2 separate regions of the Homo sapiens genome follow, and region 2 is linked to region 1. The links are contacts of gene promoters, found by promoter capture Hi-C in human tissues and cell types (Jung and others, 2019). All regions are on one chromosome and are shown on one strand. The core of a region is centred on a gene start or on the middle of the fragment in contact, and the rest is flanking DNA. Distances in the headings are between cores, read along the strand shown.

Region 1 (2,969 bases), core at 233-2,732:
CCACACCTGAACAGACCCATTCACAAGATAATGTAGCTTATTCTCTCCCCTGACCCATTCATGCTCCCTAGCAGAAGCCCATCCACTTCTGCTGGATGCTCTTCGGCTCCCTCCCGTAACCTCATTTGCCAGGGTAGTCTATAAGCTTCTGAGACATGTTGCAGGGTGGGTAATCAATCACTCTGATTCTCCCTGTGTGCATGTTAAATAAATGTGTATGCATTTACCATTACACAACCTTAAAAGAGTGTTGTTGGTCTATTAGCAATAATGACTGAAGGAAATTGGTATTTTTGTCCATTTCAGCTACTACTAGGATAATCTTATAAGATATTTGGGAAGTTATGTTTTGGTCTATTTAATATATGTGCCTCGATGAAAAAAACACCTTTTGCCACAGGAGACACCAATGTTTCAATATTGATAGGAGCAAAACACATGAGAGTGCTTTTTTTTTTTTTTTTTTTTTTTTTTTGAGGCAGAATCTTGCTGGGTCGCCCAGGCTGGAGTGCAGTGGTGCAATCTTGGCTCACTGCAACCTTCGCCTCCCAAGTTCAAGCCATTCTTCAGCCTCAGCCTCCAGTGTAGCTGGGATTACAGGCACCCGCCACCATGCCCGGCTAATTTTTGCCTTTTTAGTAGAGACGGGGTTTCATCCCAGGGCCAAGCTGGTCTCGAATTCCTGACCTCAAGCAATCCGCCCCGCTCAGCCTCCCAAAGTGCTGGGATTACAGGCGTGAGCCACTGCGCCTGGCCTGAGAGTACTTTTAGAAAACATTATTCCTTTACCTTTTTCAAACTTGAAGCACTCCGAAAGTCCCAACCTTTTGCACATTTGCGGCAGCGACATTGATTTGGTAAACAGCTGTCACACTATTTATTATTTGATGACTTAGGTATCCTTTCCAGCAGTGTTTTTGTAAGGTGTAGTTGCGTTTTCTTTTAGTTTCAATTAACTAAATTTCAAGTGGTTCCCAAAAAAGCCCCTGCTCTCTTAAATTCAAACTCACCTTCCTTTTTCCCACTAGGAAGGACCTTTTCTCCATCCTTGGATTGGAATTTGGAATTCTATGCTAAAATGCCTTTTCAGTTAAAATCTGTGAACGTGGGATGTAACCATAGGAGGTGCTGGCACTTTACGGGAATCATGATTTTATTTAATCTGCGCTTCCAGAAGGCTGCAAATGGGAATTCCAGACAAACCCACTTGGGTGAATCCCAGCACGCGGGCTGCGGCGTAGGGGGAGAGCTCCTCACGCGGCTCAGAGTGTAGCCCAGGCCCGCAGAGCCAGGAACCCGCCCCCAGCTCTCCAAACCCGGGAAGAGAGAGGCGACACTGCTAAGACCGAGGGATGACGGTGCTTCTTCAATTAATTCGCCCCCCGAGATATTCTTACCTACAGAAGGGAGTGTCTGTTCACCAAATCGCTCACTTGCCGCACGACCACGCACCCGCGGCTGTCGGATGGATCCAGGCGCTCTTGGTGGGAAGGGGGCGGAGCCTGCCTGGCCCGGAGCCCGGGGCCACGCCCCCACGCTTTGCATATGCGAATCCGGGCGTCCAGACCTTTCATCCCAGTGTGGAAGCCCAGATTTTCCTGGCCCAGGGCCGGTTTTCTGGGCAGAAACAGTCAACTCTGCTGAAAGGAACAACTTAAGTAATACACTGACATTCAGCATAATGAAGCAAGAGGGCCTGAATCCAACAGCGATCGTTTGCTTTATTTACAAATATGTCCTTTCTTATGAATCCATTTATTTCTCTCCAAAAGCTTAGGAGAGAGGGCTGGCTGGCTGTCACCCCCACTCTACACATGAAGAAAGTGAGGCGGAAGGAAGTAGGCCTAGTAAATAGAGAAGCCTGGGTTTTAGTTGGGGCTCCTGGCTCCAGAGCCAGTGGTTATAATCACTCTGCACTTTTTTTTTTTAAAGGAGGTAGAGTGGGATGGTTTCCTGGCACTTTGAAAATCTGATACAAACAATTTTTTCTTTTCTTCTTCTTTTTCTTTTCTTTTCTCTTTTCTTTCTTTCTTTTTTTTTTTTTTGAGACAGAGTCTCCCTCTGTCGCCCAGGATGGAGTGCAGTGGCGCGATCTCGGCTCACTACAACCCTCCGCCTCCCGGGTTCAAGCGATTCTCCTGCCTCAGCCTCCAAAAATTAACGCCCAGTTAATTTTTGTGTTTTTAGTAGAGACGGGGTTTGGTTTCACCATATTGGCCAGGCTCATCTCGAACTCCTGGCCTCGTGATCCGCCTGCCTCGGCCTCTCAAAGTGCTGAGATTACAGGCGTGAGCCACCGCGCCTGGTCTTTTTTCTTTCTTTCTTTCTTTCTTTTTTTTTTTGAGATGGAGCCTCGCTGTTGTTGGCCCCGGGCTGGAGTGCAATGGCACGATCTTGGCTCACTGCAACCTCCACCTCCCGGGTTCCAGCAATTCTTCTGCCTCAGCCTCCCTAGTAGCTGGGATTACAGGCGCCCGTCACCACACCCAGCTAATTTTTGTATTTTTAGTAGAGATGGGGTTTCACCATGTTGTCCAGGCTGGTCTCAAACTCCTGACCTCAGGTGATCCACCCGCCTCGGCCTCCCAAAGTGCTAGGATTACAGGTGTGAGCCACAGCACCCGGCCACCTGGCCTCTTTTCTTTTCTTTTCTCTTTCTTTCTTTCTTTTTTTTTTTTTTTTGACAAAGTCTCACTTTATCTCCCAGGCTGGAGTGCAGTGGTGCAACCCCAGCTCACTGCAACCTCAATCTCCCAGGCACACTGATCCTCCTGCCTCAGCCTCCCAAGTAGCTGGGCTTGCAGGTGGGTGCCACCACGTCACATTAATTTTTTTGTTTTTTTTTTTTGGTAGAGACAGAGTCTCACTATCTTGCCCAGGCTGGTCTTGAACTCCTGGGCTCAAAGGATCCTCCTGCCTTGCCCGCCCAAAGTGTTGGGATTACAGGCATGAGCCACTACGCTTAGCCT
Region 2 (2,969 bases), core at 135-2,634, 46 kb before region 1:
TGATATTCATGTTTGCTACATTTTAGAAATTGGAGAAAGACTGATTTGAATCACAGTCATCATAAGAGCATCTTTCATTTGGTCTTGTGGTCCTCTAAGAAACTCTAGAGTTTTTAACATGAACAATACAGAGAGACACAAGACTTCCCTTGAGAGCATTCAAATGAAGACAAGAATCATGATTTTTAATATTTGTGAATATGACTTACTACAAAATGACAACACTTCAAAGTTTAACTTTCATCCCACAGTTTTCTTACCTAGACAGGCATCCAAAAATCTCACAAAAATACTTAATGAACATGAGTCAGTCCGTTTAAAAAAAAATACTTACCACATTTATACCATAGTCAGCAATCATAAGGCTGTAGTCATTTACATAATCACAAATGTCTCAATTCTTATGTTGTTTTTTCTATCTTTCACAATAGGAAAATTTACAAAAGAAGAGATCATTGTTCTCCCAAGGCCCTCAAGGGTGAAAGAGAATTTGATGCCTGAAGAATAGCAGTGTTTTTTTAAATTCTCTTTTTTAAATTTTTCATCTTCAAGTATCCCCAGTCTAACCAAAGGCACCAGATCATGACTATATGATTGGGTCCTGTAGTGTCAGACTGAGGATACTTTTCCAGATTTGTTGCTTTATTACTAGTCAGCTTGATCATTAATCTAAGAACACATGATCTAACAGAAAAGTGGCACTTCATTGCTTTAATGTGCTTTCCAAGTGGCCTAAGGGCCCCTTAATTCTTCAGCTCACTTACCTAACTCAGACTTGACTTTATCTTCTCTTTGTGGGTACAAGTGTTCTTTTAGACTTTGTAAACTTTCATGGAATTTAGCATTTCTTGTAATCTTTGCATTTAGTTTTTTTTTTTTTTGACGTCCCTGAGAACATGTTGCAATTTGTTTTTCAAAGAAATAGTTGCGCAGGAATTACTAAAGCAGACGAGAAAAACTGGGTGTGACAGTAAACAGGAAAGATATATCAAAACTGGAGACAGTATCACTGCTTACTGATCATAAGCATCAGTATAAGTTTCCTATTCTTATATTCAGACGGCATTATGTTATCTAGCATGTGGTATTTAATACAATACCATAAATATCTTATAAAATGCTGTTCTTGGAACTGAAATTACTAAGATAAAATAATACTGTATAATTAGGGGCTATAACTAAATGGACAATGATGCATATGTAACTGTAACCTGAATGAATATTAAATAACTAACGAAGCTTGGCCACTTCTGAGGGTAGCAGCTGGTAAGATTCCCAAAGCCCACTCCCCCAGAAGATCCCTGTGGACTTTCACATGGCCCACTGTGAAGATATAGCCGTGTCCCCTGAAAGGAAGGAATAACCATATCTATATCTTGGTAGCCAAAGTGTGAAATGGCTTTATCCATTGTTGTCAATACCCATACTACAACAAAATACAGATTTTTTTTGCTTGAATTTTGATTTGATGAAAAGCAACCTTGTGTCAGAGACAAGTCTGACAGAAAAAAAAAAAGAAAAAAAGAAAAGAAAAGAAAGAAAAGCAACTTGATTCAGCTCTACCAGATGTTAATAACCTTTTCCTTTACTTATTGTTTTCTTCTCCTTTTCCTTAATTCATTGGCGTGAGGCAGCAGCCAAGGCCTGCAATGGTTCTGTCTTCTCCTGGATCTTCCTTTGGCTTCTGTGACCTTTTGGTTAGCTACATACCTGGTTAGCTCCATAACAAAGGGTTCCTTTTCCTGCAGGACACCCATGCCACCAAGGTCAGGGGCAACAAGAACTGACAAGGGGGGCTGTCTGTCCTCCTGGGCCCCAGCTCATAACGGTGAGCCCCAGCTAGTTCTTCCTCTCCTCCCCTTATATCCATTTTTCTGCCCTCACTTCTTGATCTGCGCACTTCAAGCTCCAGCAGAAGGACACAGACTGGCAGAGAACACGTAGCCAGGTCCTCAATGGCCTAGGTTCCTGAGGAAGCCTGAGTCTATGATACAGCAGTCACACCTTACTTTGCTTATTGGTCCTCAGCCCAATTCCTTGTAGGTCTGTTTTAATTTACTGGAAGTGCTAGAACCACATATCTACATATCTATTCTCTAAATTGATTTAATAAAGACATTTTCTATAATTAGGGCTATTTTTTTAATGTGATGAGAATGTATTTGTGTTTAAAATAAAAACTGATTTTCTGGGCACTGTGGCTTACATCTATAATCCCAGTGCTTTGGGAGACAGAGGTGAGAGATGATGTGAGGCCAGGAGTTCAAGACCAACGTGGGCAATAACAAGACTCTGTTTCCAAAAATAAAAATAAGGCTGGGCGCGGTGGCTCATGTCTGTAATCCCAGCACTTTGGGAGGCTGAGGTGGACAGATCACTTGAGGTCAGGAGTTCAAGATCGACCTGGCCAACATGGTGAAATCCCGTCTCTACTAAAAATAGAAAAATTAGACCGCTATGGTGGCGTGTGCCTGTAATCCCAGCTACTTGGGAGGCTGAGGCACAAGAACCACTTGAACCTGAGAGGTGGAGGCTGCAGTGAGCCGAGACTGTGCCACTGCACTCCACCCTGGGTGACACAGTGAGACTCTGTCTCAATAAATAAATAAATAAATAAATAAATAAATAATAAAATAAAATGAAATAAACTACCTGAGTGATATGGTTTGGCTGTGTGTCCCCACCCAAATCTCATGTCGAATTGTAATCCCCAGTGTTGGAGAAGGGGCCGGGTGGGAGATGATTGAATCATGGGGGCAGACTTTTCTCATGGTAGTGAGTGAGTTCTCATGAGATCTGGTTGTTGAAAAGTGTGTAGCACTTCCCCCTTCGCTCTCTTCCTCCTTCTCCCACCATGTAAGTCGTGCCCCTTTTGACTTCTCCTTCCACCACTATTCTAAGTTTCCTGAGGCCTCCCCAGCCATGCTTCCTGTACAGGCTGCAGAATCGTGAGCCAGTTAAACCTCTTT

Evidence for each region. The method cuts DNA at HindIII sites, captures the fragments that hold promoters and counts their contacts. A contact is called where the count stands out against the background at its distance.
Region 2: a contact is called between a fragment that was not itself captured here and the fragment with the promoter of SLC19A3 in region 1, in 5 of the 25 tissues and cell types used here (H1 embryonic stem cells, bladder, hippocampus and 2 more).

What each region holds. Positions count from the first base shown.
Region 1 is chr2:227,716,546-227,719,514 of GRCh38, forward strand. SLC19A3 (solute carrier family 19 member 3) reads right to left here and starts at 1,483. Exons shown (of 6, transcript NM_025243.4): 1 at 1,398-1,483. RefSeq lists an enhancer at 1,014-1,900. The HindIII fragment of the contact is 9,813 bases long and covers 1-2,969 here.
Region 2 is chr2:227,670,964-227,673,932 of GRCh38, forward strand. No RefSeq gene overlaps it. Among named protein-coding and RNA genes, the nearest start is that of SCYGR5, 5.6 kb to the left of the region's middle. The HindIII fragment of the contact is 5,458 bases long and covers 1-2,969 here.